5 separate regions of the Homo sapiens genome follow, and all the other regions are linked to region 3. Evidence: promoter capture Hi-C in 16 types of primary human blood cells and fetal thymus (Javierre and others, 2016). All regions are on one chromosome and are shown on one strand. Each heading gives the region's core, a stretch centred on a gene start or on the middle of the fragment in contact. The rest is flanking DNA. Distances are from core to core; before and after follow the strand shown. Region 1 overlaps PRKCA (protein kinase C alpha). Region 2 overlaps PRKCA (protein kinase C alpha). Region 3 holds the start of APOH (apolipoprotein H). Region 4 overlaps PRKCA (protein kinase C alpha). Region 5 overlaps PRKCA (protein kinase C alpha).

What was found. Contacts are between HindIII fragments. The CHiCAGO score rates a contact against its expected background, and 5 or more counts as called.
Region 1: a fragment that was not itself captured here is called in contact with the fragment with the promoter of APOH in region 3 in 4 of 17 cell types (activated CD4 T cells, M1 macrophages, non-activated CD4 T cells and 1 more); the score reaches 7.4 in activated CD4 T cells.
Region 2: a contact is called between a fragment that was not itself captured here and the fragment with the promoter of APOH in region 3, in 3 of 17 cell types (monocytes, activated CD4 T cells and megakaryocytes). The highest score is 6.0, in monocytes.
Region 4: a contact is called between a fragment that was not itself captured here and the fragment with the promoter of APOH in region 3, in 1 of 17 cell types (megakaryocytes). The highest score is 5.1, in megakaryocytes.
Region 5: a fragment that was not itself captured here is called in contact with the fragment with the promoter of APOH in region 3 in 4 of 17 cell types (endothelial precursors, M0 macrophages, activated CD4 T cells and 1 more); the score reaches 7.1 in endothelial precursors.

The regions. Positions count from the first base shown.
Region 1 is chr17:66,705,948-66,708,647 of GRCh38, forward strand. All of the region lies in intron 8 of PRKCA (protein kinase C alpha), which reads left to right. Among named protein-coding and RNA genes, the nearest start is that of MIR634, 80 kb to the right of the region's middle. The HindIII fragment of the contact is 789 bases long and covers 1,050-1,838 here.
Region 2 is chr17:66,584,797-66,587,496 of GRCh38, forward strand. The region is part of intron 3 of PRKCA (protein kinase C alpha); the gene reads left to right. Among named protein-coding and RNA genes, the nearest start is that of PRKCA-AS1, 170 kb to the left of the region's middle. The HindIII fragment of the contact is 1,399 bases long and covers 560-1,958 here.
Region 3 is chr17:66,228,049-66,230,748 of GRCh38, forward strand. It overlaps APOH (apolipoprotein H), which reads right to left and starts at 1,367. Exons shown (of 8, transcript NM_000042.3): 1 at 1,268-1,367; 2 at 1-148. The coding sequence starts at 1,331. The HindIII fragment of the contact is 12,618 bases long and covers 1-2,446 here.
Region 4 is chr17:66,650,846-66,653,545 of GRCh38, forward strand. The region is part of intron 5 of PRKCA (protein kinase C alpha); the gene reads left to right. Among named protein-coding and RNA genes, the nearest start is that of MIR634, 130 kb to the right of the region's middle. The HindIII fragment of the contact is 1,216 bases long and covers 658-1,873 here.
Region 5 is chr17:66,630,764-66,633,463 of GRCh38, forward strand. All of the region lies in intron 3 of PRKCA (protein kinase C alpha), which reads left to right. Among named protein-coding and RNA genes, the nearest start is that of MIR634, 150 kb to the right of the region's middle. The HindIII fragment of the contact is 2,573 bases long and covers 108-2,680 here.

The DNA of each region.
Region 1 (2,700 bases), core at 194-2,693, 480 kb after region 3:
CTGTCCCTGGAGCGGTAAATCGCAAGGGTTCTGACCTCCCTGGGTATCCTGAAAGAGGAAGTGGCGAGCAGCTTGAGCTCTAGATCTTGCACCTCCAAGTATGGGAGCTGATTAATAATGCAGAGGTTCAGAGCCCAGCCCAGCCTCTGACCCAGTCAGAATATTATTTTAACAAGGTCCCCAGGTGATTCCTGAGCCCATTAAAGTTTGAGAAATGCTGGTCAAGAAGATGAAACCTGTTGACTGATGAGTAAACAAATTCAGTCTCCTGTGGTCGTAAAGACAGCAAGGATAGACTTCATCACCCCCAGTACCCATATTAAATAGCGAAGGGATCAGTGAACTGTGACCCACACCCAACCACCTGCTTTTGTATATACAGTCTATGAGCTAAGAATGGTTTCAAGGCTGGGTGCGGTGGCTCACGCCTATAATCCCAGCACTTTGGGAGGCCGAGGCAGGCAGATCGCAAGGTCAGGAGATCGAGACCATCCTGGCTAACACGGTGAAACCCCGTCTCTACTAAAAATACAAAAAAAAAAAAAATTAGCCAGGCATGATGGCAGGCACCTGTAGTCCCAGCTGGAGGCTGAGGCAGGAGAATGGCATGAACCCGGGAGGCGGAGCTTGCAGTGAGCCGAGATCACGCCACTGCACTCCAGCCTGGGCGACAGAGTAAGGCTCTGTCTCAAAAAAAAAAAAAAGAGTGGTTTCAGGATTTTTAAGTGGTTGAAAAAAAGAAGGATATTTGCGAGACATGAAAATTTGGTGAAATCCAAAATCTGGTGCCTATAAATAGATTTTTATTAACACAACTACATTCATTCATTCGTGTGTTGTCCACAGCTGTTCCTTTGCTACCACGGCAGAGTTGAGTCCCTGCAAAAGAGACTGCATGGGCCTCAAAGCCTAAATGTATGCCCTCTGGTCCTTTACATAAAAAGTTTGTGACCTCTGGGTTAATGGAATAATAGGGTATTCAAACTGGGAGAGATGTTTAAGATTGTGTTTGTTGATGGGGAAACAAAAGCAAAAGGGAGTGTGTTCAAAGCTTGTTAGTGCAGGACCCAGACCTCCTGTGTGAGTTGATGCTTCTGTCTCATACCCTGTCCCTTCCCACACACCCTTCCCTATGACACCCCCTTTTCTGACTCCTCTCCATTCATCCACCATGCTCATTAATGCATCTCAGCCCATGCTTGTGCTCCTTGGAAAGACCCTCCCTTCTCCTCCACTTCCGTCAGTCCTAGGCTTTTCAAATCCTACAAGTCCCTTTATGTGGTTCTCTGGCCTCTTAAAATTGCCTTGACTTATGCAGTCTAAAGACTACTCACTTGCCAGACACACCTGTAAGATGTGTCACCTTCCTGATTCCAGAGTAAGAACCTCAGGCCCTCCTCTGAATACTTTGAAGTCTAAACATCAGGCCCATGAGGAGTCCACCCTTCACCTGCACTTTTTTGACAGCCCAGAGGAAGGTGTCTGAGCCAACATCTTTATGAGGCTGGTTGGAGGCCTTCAGGGGAGAGGCCATTTTAGAGCCACGAGAACCTCCCTTTCTTCCTCTAGCAGTTGTGTAAAACTCACGTGTGTGACAAATCTGGTTGCTCTTGAAGATGGACCAGTTTCTTTCCCATACATTTTATGGTTCCAGAAATCAGTAATTCTGGACATTTCTAACTGGTGGATGCTGCATCTACTCTGTGTCAAGCACTGTCCCTGGGGCTAGAGACAGAACCTTGCTCTTGGGAACATTGTGGAGTAGTACTAAGGGATATGAGACCTTGTACCTTATCTCCACTTTCTGGAAACGACCCCTGACCCTCATAGTGGAGGGAAGCTTACACCCTGTCTCCTAAACAGTAGCTAGCCTAGATCAGCGGGAGTCTGACCCAGGCCACAAGTCAGTTCTTTGTCCACGTAGCAGTATCTCCAGCTCTTGAGATGCTGAGTAAGCCTCACTGCTGAAAAGATTATGGCTCGCCTGATGTAACATGGCTTTTATAGGCAGCTAGAACCACAGAGGCCTCAGAGAATTCAAAATCACAGCTCCCTACATGGGGTCCAGGAACGTGTGGCCAAGGTGCTCATGGTGTTGTATTTTGGTTTTAGTTTGTTTTCAGGGATGAGGCCTCTTTGCCCATTAGGACTGTCGCCATGATGTACACATGATGGTGGCACTTCCCAGTTCATCAGGCCGACCAAGTGGGGCCATAGATGTCCTTGTTCAGGAATTCAGGGAACTCGGTGGCTGTCGTGTCTTCAGCACTTAATTGAAAACGAAGTGGTTAACATTTGGCACTAGTGCAGCTTCCTGCCATTTGCCACTTTCACCTTGAGCAGAGGTGTTTTGCTTCCTCATCTCCCTTCCCAGCATCCAGGTGTGTGGTCCGGGAAGGATTCCCTGGGACCTCTTGCAGATGTGTAGAGCAAGAGGTGCTGTGCGTATCTGGGCTGGGTCACTTCAGCCTTTCCTTTGATTTTTTTTTCCCAGAGAAGATTTGGGATGGTTTGTCATGTCCAAGTGTGAAACAGCCTTAGAGTTCTTTCTAGGTCCATTTGAGTCTAAGAATAACTACCCAGTGGCTGCCGGAAGGCTGTGAAGCCACATAGCAATTGTATCAAGGTGTCTCTGCTAAATGTTTTTTGTCTCCCTGTAGAAAGAAGCAGGTGACCTATTGCAGATGGCAGTTGGAGATA
Region 2 (2,700 bases), core at 9-2,508, 360 kb after region 3:
CTACCCTAAATCCAGGATGATCTTATCTCGAGGTCTTTATTTAATTACACCTGCAAAAACCTTACTTCTACATGAAGTGGCATTGTTCGTCTGGGTTAATACCTGAGGTTCATTGCCTCATGCCAAGGAAATCAAGGACACTGACACACAAGGAGTGAGTTTAAGAGCAGGAGTTTAATAGGCAAGAGAAAGAGGAAAGCTCTCTCTCTCCTTCAGAGAGAGAGGGGCTCCTGAGTGAGTCTTCCAGTTCCATGGTGAAATGCATGGGGAGGGGGGGGTGGTGGTTAATAGATGAGCGTGGAGAGGCGGTGTCTGATTTACATAGGGCCCAAATGATTGGTTAGATAGGTGTGCCATTTACATAGTGTAGGAAGAAGATGGCTGCCCCACCCTAATCTTTTGTTAGGCAGGTGGGTTCTCTACCTGGCCAGCGCCATGTTGCCTGCTTCTTTATTGCACACCTGGTTGACAGAAGGGAAGATGGACCCTCCATGTTGAACACGCCTGACCCCCAGGTAGCCATTTCCTATCCGCAGAGCTGCCGGCATTCACCCGTGCAAGCTTCCAGCTTGCTTATCTATGTCTGCAGCTCGATTTTACAGGCTGCTCTGCTAGAAAAGAAATGATCTGGGGGCTGCTTTTTGTTAAAACAGAAACCTTGCTGAGGACTCTCTTACCCTCGCTAACTGCCTAAATAATTTCTTTCTAGTTCCTGTAGCACAAATAAGATTACATTCTCAGGTATTGGGGATTAAGACTTGGGACCACTCCTTAAGCCACTGTAGCTGACCTCACAGATGTCTCAGCTGACCACCAGGCAGGTGTTTCCACCCAAGGACGCACTTCCCCATTCCCCATGGCACCAGCAATGTGGAGTGGGGAGCCGCGGAGCAGGGAGCCAGCAGCTTAAGTTTGAAATCCAGCTCACTGTTCTTGAGACTGGAACCTGGAGGGCATTATTAAATGTCTCCCAGCCTTGGTTCCTGTCTTGTGTAAAGTGAAGGTGACGGTGTCTACCCCTCTGGGTCACAAGAAGCATGTGGGAGAATATGGGAAAGTAGCTGACAGGGTGCACAAGTTACAGCAGGAACTCAATATGTGTCCTTGAGTCTGAATGCAGTCATTTAGGGTCCTCAGTATTAACTGCCTTGCTCTCAGGTGGATGATGTTTGAGGATTAACAAATCTGTTGGGTGAATCCAGATAAATGGGGAGTTGACCTTTCTGGATGACACAGGTTGTTGACCATGGTTTAACATATTCAATAAGTTAATATAAAGAGTCTTGGCAGTGCCTGGTGCGGCAAAGGGACCTATATCTGTGGTTGTCATTGTCGTTGCTATGGTTGCCATTGCTATGGCACCATAACCTTGTTGATCTGAACCAGTAGAGATGAGGCTTTGAGGTGGCCCCTGGAGATCACAGCTGAGGAGCCCTAAGCCCACCCCCAGAAATGTTGTGAAAGTGGCTGCCTTCTTTCCTTTACCTAACTTGTGACATCCTTCAGCCCAGGACTCAGTACACAGTGGGCCCTCAAAAAATAGGATTAACTATTAACTGAAAGATCTTATTCCAGGTGTTCAGGGAATCAGCAGAATTAGCGTGACTTTCTGCTAATAATATCTTCAACTGATGTGATAAGAGTAGAGTTCTACCAGTGGCCACTGCAAAAGACACAGAGCATGCAAAATCCTCTCTCCTTTTATCAGAAGGAAGAGCTTCTCCATCCTTTCAACCTTGGACCAGTAATTGGTCCCTTTAGGAGTTAGTTTAAGAAAAGCTATGCATGCCTTAGCCAGCCTGAAGTCAGACCCTTAATGGGAAGCTGGTGCTTTATTGATGCTCAGTAACAGAACACTGCTTTGAGCTCAAAATAACTTCTACTAAGCTCCTTCAACAGCTTGCTCCCTAGGTGGCTCAGTGTTTTGCTGCTGTCTGAAGTTGTATATACTCCAGTGAAGCTTGAGTTTCTTCATGGTCATCATCCACTATCACCAGTTAATATGGGCTGAATATCCATAACATGTCAGACTCAGTCGGGATACATAAAGAAGACCCTGTACCTGCACTGGGGTTGTGGGTCTGAGGGCCATTAGAACTCTAGATGGCTGCACAGACACAGGTGAGGCTGTGGAGCAAAGGCAGAGTTGGTGGTGAAGGGCCTATTTTTAACTTTTATTGCCGCCATGTTGCTCCTACGATGCCATTATGAATGGTCTCTGTGAGTCCAGGCAGTGGTTAGTGTCTACTCAGAAACCTCACAATGTCTGTCCTCCTGGGATAGAATATGAACAGAATCCAGGTCTGGGGCCATGGATGTTGAACGTGATAGTATGTTTCCTGGTATCACTAAGGTCTGATCTCTTCCCGTTTTCCTACAGTTCTATGAACATTTCTTTCTAACACAATGTTTTCTTAGGGCTAATTTTAAGTTATTTTTTGGGGACTATCATCCCTTATATCCTTCTCCTTCCAAGGTATCCCAAAGTTGATGTGCAGTGTTACTGTACACTTTTTCAGCATGTGCAAATCTGTCTAGCTTATAATCTAGCATCATTTTGTGTTGTTTTACATTTTATATAAATTGTATTACACTCTACAGATTCGTTTGAAACTTGTTTTCTGTCCAACCTGATAGATTTGAGATTTATCCATATTGATTTATGTAGATCTAGTTCATTCATTTTACTTGTTATATATG
Region 3 (2,700 bases), core at 117-2,616:
AGTCCTGTGAGAGGGCAGATAAACTTTCTCATCCCTCCTCGGGACACATAGCCCGGCTTGCAGGAATACGTAATCTCTTCTCCTGGCTCATAGAATGTTTTTAACGGGACCACTGTGGAAAATGGTAAATCATCTGGCTTGGGACAGGCTGAAAGAGGGCACAAAGCAGATGGTTAACAAATCTCTATTTGCATTTTAAAGTTCAGCTAAGCCCACAAATGAAAAATGTGTGTACTGTTACCAATTATAAGCATACCAAGTTGCATGCCAAATACCTCATATACACTATCTCATCTAATCCCCTCAACAACCATTTGAAGGAGGTATTATAATTATCCCCATTTTACAGGTCAGTATGCTGAGGCTTAAATTGGCTACGTATCTTACAGAGGAGCTTTACACATGGCAATATTAAAGAATCAGTATCAATCCAGTCCCTCCAGCATCCACTCTAAAGAGAATTTAGTTATCAGCTGGGCGCAGTTGCTCACACCTGTAATCCCAGCACTTTGGGAGGCTGAGGCGGGTGGATCACGAGGTCAGGAGATAGAGACCAACCTGGCTAACACGGTGAAACCCCGTCTCTACTAAAAATACAAAAAATTAGCCGGGTGTGGTGGCGGGCGCCTGTGGTCCCAGCTACTCGGGAAGCTGAAGCAGGAGAATGGAGTGAACCCAGGAGGCGGAGCTTGCAGTGAGCCGAGATCGCACCACTGCACTTCAGCCTGGCGACAGAGCGAGACTCTGTCTCAAAAAAAAAAAAAAAGAATTTAATTATTCTTCTTCTTATTATTATTATTGTTGACTGAGTTTTGCTCTTGTTGCCCAGACTGGAGTGCAATGGGGGGACCTCGGCTCACTGCAACCTCTGCCTCCCAGGTTCAAGCAATTCTCCTGCCTCAGCCTCCCGAGTGGCTGGGATTACAGGCGCCTGCCATCACGCCCGGCTAATTTTTGTGTTTTTAGTAAAGACAGGGTTTCACTATGTTGCCCAGGCTGGGCTCGAATTCCTGACCTCAACTGATTCGCCCACCTCGGCCATGATGCCCAGCTAATTTTTGTATTTTTCATAAAGACGGGGTTTCACCATGTTGGCCAGACTGGTCTCGAACTCCTGACCTCAGGTGATCCACCTGCCTTGGCCTCCCAAAGTGCTGAGATTACAGATGTGAGCAAGCACGCCCGGCCTACTTATCATTATTGATCCCTGACATATACGAAGGGGTTGGATATATTAATTATTTTTTCAAAAGCAAAAAGTACTTACTCCGTCCTGCAATAGCAACATGGCAGAGAAAACTCGAGAACAAGATGAGCACTGGAGAAATCATTGTGGATGAGTCACACTGGCACTACCAAAGTGGTTTTCGTCTGCTAAAAAGACAGAGCCAAATATGAAAGCGCTTAAACATTAACCATTTTCTGGTGTACTTTTATCTTTGTAAATAGAAGATAAAGTATCATGATTTGAATGGAACTCTGAGACCCACATTCTTTAATCATTTACTTTCCACTTATGTGGCTCTGTTATGAAATCTTTGGGAGATGGTTTCTGTCTTCATAACGTTTTTGTTAATGGCACAAAACAGTTCATTATTGCTTTTGACAGAAACTTGTTGTTTCCGGGGTTGCCTGGACTTCTCATTCTCCATCTTTTGTTTTGTGTATGTTGTAGATGGAACACCAAAAGATCGAAGCTCCTGTTTCACTCACAGCCTTGGCATATAAACTTTGGACAAACACCTACTCTCTGTTCTCAGTCTCCACCTCTCTAAAATGATGTTCCAGTTTTCAGATGTATAATTACAAAGAATGTCTTCCAGGAGGCACTTACAACTTTAATTCCCTACAAACTGAGCTCAACATCCTCTCTTGCAAGCTCCTATAGCTCCAGTTAGGACCTTAGAGCTATCCTTGAATTCTCTATCTTCTCTTACGTCAGATCAATACAAAGTCCTCCTCATCCATTCTTAATATGTCTTGGATCTGTCTAGACAGGTTTCTAGATCTGTTTCAGGAATTTGAAAATTGATTTGAAATTAACAACTTGGGACTCGAAGAAGAAAAAAAAACTTGAGTAGGATAAGATAATGGGCCAGTGCTGATGTTGTTGCTTGAGAGGGTTCGGAAGGGGGGTTGTCTTTGATTCCCTAGTTCTCTTCTACATCATTTGCTCTAAAAAAAAAAAAAAGGATATATAAATGGACAATAGCCAGGCCATATGTGAAAACAGAACTCTGACCCACACATCTGTAGCAACAGGTCTAGAAAGCCAAACCTACAACCTCTATAGCAGTTGGCCCAACTTAAGGCCAACCAGAGAAATCCAAACATATTTCTCTAACCAATCACATGGACACCTCACTTCTAGTTAGTTTCCTTCCATCCTCCCCATACCAACAATCCGTTGGAGCACACCTGAAGCCTTTCCTTTTTTCTATTATAAAGCTTTCCCACTCCTCTGTCTGACTTTGACTTTGAGTCTCTGCCAAACACAACTGTTAATGGCTGCCTCCCTTCCTATAGCAAGCTCTGAATAAATAACCTCCGCTTGCTCTCATTTGGGTGATCTTGGTTTATATCCAGAGGTCTAAAATTCCCTGAGACACATCAGCTTGAGAAATCTCCATCTGTCAGGCAGATGATTCTTAAATTACGATCCTAATGAACATTGTGTTCCATGATAAGAAGAGTGTGCTG
Region 4 (2,700 bases), core at 16-2,515, 420 kb after region 3:
TGTATGATAATCGTTCATTTTTTTTGCTTCACCCATTGATCATACATTATTGAGCGTGTGTCCTGCTCTCTTCCTGGCACCAGGGATGCTAAGATGATTAAGACCTAGACCGTGTCACAGACTGTGTGGTCTTTGGGGGAGAATTCAGGCATGAAAAAGAATTGGCGGGTGCTGTACCTGCAGTGGGAGTTTGGGAGAAGGGGAGCCTCAGTGGCCCTGGGGAGGCAGCAGGTGACAGCTTCACATCGGAAGTGCAGTGGAGCCGGGAGGACAGGGAAGGAAGAAGAGGGCATTCCAGGCAAAGATGCAGAGTGTGTTCAGGAAGCTCAGCACCATCCAGGATGTCAGGAAGTTCAAGTGAGAGTTGGAGAGAGCTGGAGGGAAGTTTGTTTCTTTCCATTTTCAAAGTATGAGAGCTGCAATCATCAGTTTACCAGTTGCACAATCCTTAGGAGCCATGCGCACAGGCTCTGAGTTAAATATTTCTTTTTAAAACAGGAAGATTTTAAGTTCCAGGTAGCTACGTTTTCAACAAGAACAGAGCATCAGTCTCCTAGCCTGAACTCTACACATCACCCTGAGATTCACAGTGAGCAGAGACCTTCTCTATCATTGCTGGGTAAGGAGACGCAGCAGGTAGCCCAACCTTTGCCTAAAAGCTTTGCACAGGTACCTTTTGCAGTGACAGGCAGGCTGTGGAATATAATAACTTGTTGGAGGCTGCCAGCAAGGAGATGCACCAAGCTCCTTATTTAAAGGAAAAGGCATTAGTTGGAAGTCATTTCTGTTCAATAAATCTTGGTTATGGGATTTGGATCCAGATCAGGAACGTAGATGGTGATGCAGCAGATGTATCTGCTCCTTTGGTTTGGGATGGAGAGGGAGAGGGTGCTGGCAAGAAGCTGCTTATCCTCAGGGGCACCCAGAGTGTCCACTGTTGGTGATCCTGCATTTGACCACCTGGTTCAGCGTTCTCAGCAGATCCCTCCAACTGCAAAGGTATTTTTGTTGTTGTTGTTGTTTGTAATTAATAAGGAATCTGGATGTCATACTTGATGAACAGCAACCTCCCACCTAATGGTTTTAACCTTGATTATTTTATTTTTTATTTATTTGTTTATTTATTTTTTTGAGACACAGTCTCACTCTGTCACCCAGCCTGGAGTGCAATGGTGCAATCTTGGCTCATTGCAACCTCCGCCTCCTGGATTCAAGCGATTCTCCTGCCTCAGCCTCTCGAGTAGTTGGGATTATAGGTGTGTGCCACCATGCCCGGCTAATTTTTGTTTTTTTGGTAGAGACAAGGTTCCACCATGTTAGCTAGGCTGATCTCGAACTCCTGACTTGAGGTGATCCACCTGCCTTGACCTCCCAAAGTGTTGGGATTACAGGCGTGAGCCACCGTGCCTGGCCAACCATTCTTGATTAAAAGAGAATGAGGAGACATGATTACCAAATGCAATCTGTAACACTTGGTTGGATCCTGGATCCAAGAAAAAAACAGCTGTAAAGAACATTTTGGGGACAGTGGGGACAGTTGAATCTGGACTGTATTTTAGAGAATGTTTTTGTACCAGTGTGACATTTCTGGGTGGTAATGGTCATGTGATTTTGGAGGGGAATGCTGAAATATTTTAGGGGTCATTTTTTCCTAATGTCTACAACCTACTTCCAAATGGTTCAACAAAAGCAAAAAAACAGACAGAAATCTGAAAATAGGACCAGGCGGGGGTTGGGGCCAAGAAGAGAGCGTGTGTGCAGGCAAGAGCACCTGTGGCGGAATAATAGTGACTCTAGAAAGTGATATAGGTGTTCACTGTACTGTTCTTTCAACTTCACTCCCAAAAACTTGGGCAATGATATCTATGTCTGAAGCTTTGTTTCAGTTGATCGTATTTAAATGTACTCTGTAGAGGTCATTCTTGGCTAGAAGGAAGCCCCTGCTGAAGCAGCCATCAGAGCGCCTCAGCAGTTAAGCTTCCCTGCCTCCACCCTCTTACTCTATGACCCTCCCCTGCCTCTGTCCATGGCCACCAACGCCTTTCCTTTTGTGGATGGCAGACCAAAGGAGACAATTATTCTGCCTCAACCCAACGCTGTGTTTCCTTGTGGTTCTGCACTGAGGCTGGGCCCAGAAGCCTGGTTCATGAAGAGCACTCACCTGGCCCCTGGCCCCTGGCCCCCGTTAAACAGGTGAGTCACTGACCATTTCCTTAGAGCCACCTGGGACTGGCTGCATGGGACTTGCCATGACACAGCCGGCCAGACTGCCACAGGCAGGTTCTGGGAACTGTACACTTACATGGATGGGCAGGGGCTGCCTGGGATTGGGAGCCACTAGTGGTCTATGTCCCCAAGAGCTTGTATATGACCCCCATTTTCCAAATAGCTCAGGCAGAAAAGAAAATGTGAGTTAAACAGCTAAAGGAGTCATATGTAGGTATGTGTACATATGTGTAAGAAGTAGGCTGGACATGGTGACTCATTCCTGTAGTCCCAGCTACTCAGGAAGCTGAGGCAGGAGGATCTCTTGAGCCCAGGAGTTTGAGACAAGTCTGGGCAACAGGGCAAGACCTCGTCTACACAAAAAGAAAAAATAACCAGATGTGGTGGTGTGCACTTGTAGTCCCAGCTACTCAGGAGGCTGAGGCAGAAGGATCGCTTGAACCCAGGAGTTCGAGGTAACAGGGATCTATGATG
Region 5 (2,700 bases), core at 144-2,643, 400 kb after region 3:
CTTGAAACTACTTTCAGTTGAACTCAAACCTACAAGCTTTCAAAGTTTGAAGTCCTAACCCATCCTGTGGCTCTTTACCAAATAATATAAAATGGCAGTAGATACTAAGCTTTCTGAGGGCCATTGTAGATTGTGTTATTATTTAAAATATTTGCTGTCCCCTTCTGGGGAGGTTATTACACCCGGCCCTGTTGACTTCCAGATTGGCCATGTGCCTTGCTTTGGCCAGTGACATGCAAACAGAAATGATGACACCATTTCCAAGCAGGAGATATATGAGCCGTTGAGTACTCTGCCATTTCTTTTTTTCCTCTGCTGTGAGATTGCATATGTCCTAGATAGTGACTGCTAAAGTCCCTAAGTGAAAAGTGAGATAAATTTTTGTTGTGGAAAGCCACTGAAAGTTAGAAGTGATTTGTTAGCAGTATAATCTAGTCTCTTCATTCCAAGTTAGATAGGACCTGAGCCTCACCTGGAGTCTTCACATGGTGGGCACACCACCTGGCACATAGTAGGTGTACGGTAAATAATTTTTTTTAGGCAAAATGAAGAAATTGATAGGTACCTAGGAAATAACCTTATTTATAAATGAGTTATGTTTAGGGTTTGTGATTTGAATACTTACACATTTTAAACATCTTATTTTTATTACTGTTACTTTAGAGACAGGGTCTCACTATGTTGCCCAGGCTGAAGTGCAGTGGCTATTCACAGGCATGATCATGGCGCATTACAGCCTCGAACACCTGGGCTTAAGCAATCCTCCTGCCTCAGCCTCCCAAATAGCTGGGACCACAAGCATGCGCCACTGCACCTAGCTTATCTTTTTTTAATATCAGAATTCCATATTAAACCATCAGAGGTTTTTGAAATTTAAAAGTTGTGCAGGGTGACTATAATCAATAATAACTACACATTTTAAAATAACTTAAGGAGCATAATTGGATTGTAACTCAATGGATAAATGTCTGAGGGGATGGATACTCCATTCTCCATGATGTGCTTATTTCACATTGCATGCCTGTATCAAAACATGACATGTACCCCGTAAATATATACACCTATGTACTCACAAAAGTTAAAAATAAATTTGTTTAAAGTTGATTGATGATGGAGCAAAAACTGGACATAAAACAATGTCTTGAGATGTTAATGAATAAGATATATTATGAAATAGGAAGATGGTCTTAATAATAGCTTTTCATTAAGAGTTGTATTGGTGGCTTGTGGTGTTAAATATCTTCATAGTGCCTTCATATAGACACCTTCTTCTGCAGATTGGTAGAGAAACTGCCAACAAAGCCCCTGTGTAGTGAGATGAGGTGGTTGCGCCCCAGTTCCTCCAGCATGCTAGGCTTTTCCCCCAATGGTGTCTCATGAAGCAGCCGGAATATAGCCAGTGTATTCAGCTGGACTTCGTGGTAATTTGGGTTACATAGATAATGTATGGATTTATTTTTTAACTTAAATCTTTTCAGATAATGTTAAAAGTCTCATTTTACTTTCATGTCTGAACCTAATCTGTCCCCACACTTTCCCAGAGTCATTTACTTATTTATCAATCTAGAAAAAAACTGTCTTACTGTTCAGAGGAGGGGGCTTTTTGTTTTTTGTTTGTTTGTTTTTTGTTTTTTGAGACGGGGTCTTGCTCTGTTACCCAGGCTGGAGTGCAGTGGCATGGTCAGGGCTTACTGCAAACTTGACCTCCTGGGCTCAAGCAGTCCTCCCACCTCAGCCTCCTGAGTAGCTGGGACTAAAGGCATAGGCCACCACCCCCAGCTAATTTTTTTTTTTTAAGTAGAGATGAGGTCTCGTTATGTTGCCCCAGCTAGTCTTGAACTCCTGAGCTCAAACGATCCTCCCAAAGTGCTTGTTTCTGTTTTTTACATAAAAGTCATTATATTTTATGTCTTGTGTTGTGGCTTGCTGTTTTCATTAGACAATATATCTTAGAGATCTGTCCATGATTTTACAGAAAGATCTAGCTCATTTGATTTAACTGCCATGGAGTATTCCATAGTATAAATATATTACAGTTTATTTAGCCATTGCCTTGCTGATACAGATCTATCTAGAATTTTTAAAATAATTTATTGCTTCCCATTGAATGATTACAGCATCTTGCATAGCTGGGCAAAGGACTCATAAGAAACCTACTAGCAAAACCTGGTTTGACAGGTTCATCCAACTGTATAGATGAGTGTTATTCACCAGAATAAACTGAAGTGTTACATTGCAGATCAGAAATTAATGAGCATCACCAAAAACGGAATTTCTTTCGTTCTTTCTTAGAAAAGGAAACATCCAACAAGATCAGTATGGTCAGAGGCCAAGTGCGATCCTAAGCCCAAATGGAGAGTGGGCCAGGCAGACCCAGCCGCCTGAGAAGGGGCATGGCAGCTTTACTGAGTACATGATACACAATGTAATAATTACAGTGGTCCCCAAGTTACATGCAACCACCCTGATCATATGACTTGGTTTTGGTAATCCTCTCATGTTAACCAAAAAAATTTTAAATAGGTCTTTTTTTATATCATAGGGTTAAAAAAAAAACTGCTTCCTACTTCCCTAAATTTCTTAAGAAATTTAAGATCGCAGTAATGTTGCTAGATTTGCCCTTGAAGCAGTGTTTTGGGTGTTTCTCATATAGTCAGCATGTGGGTGACATTTAGACCCAAGCTTGGCTTACAAGCATGA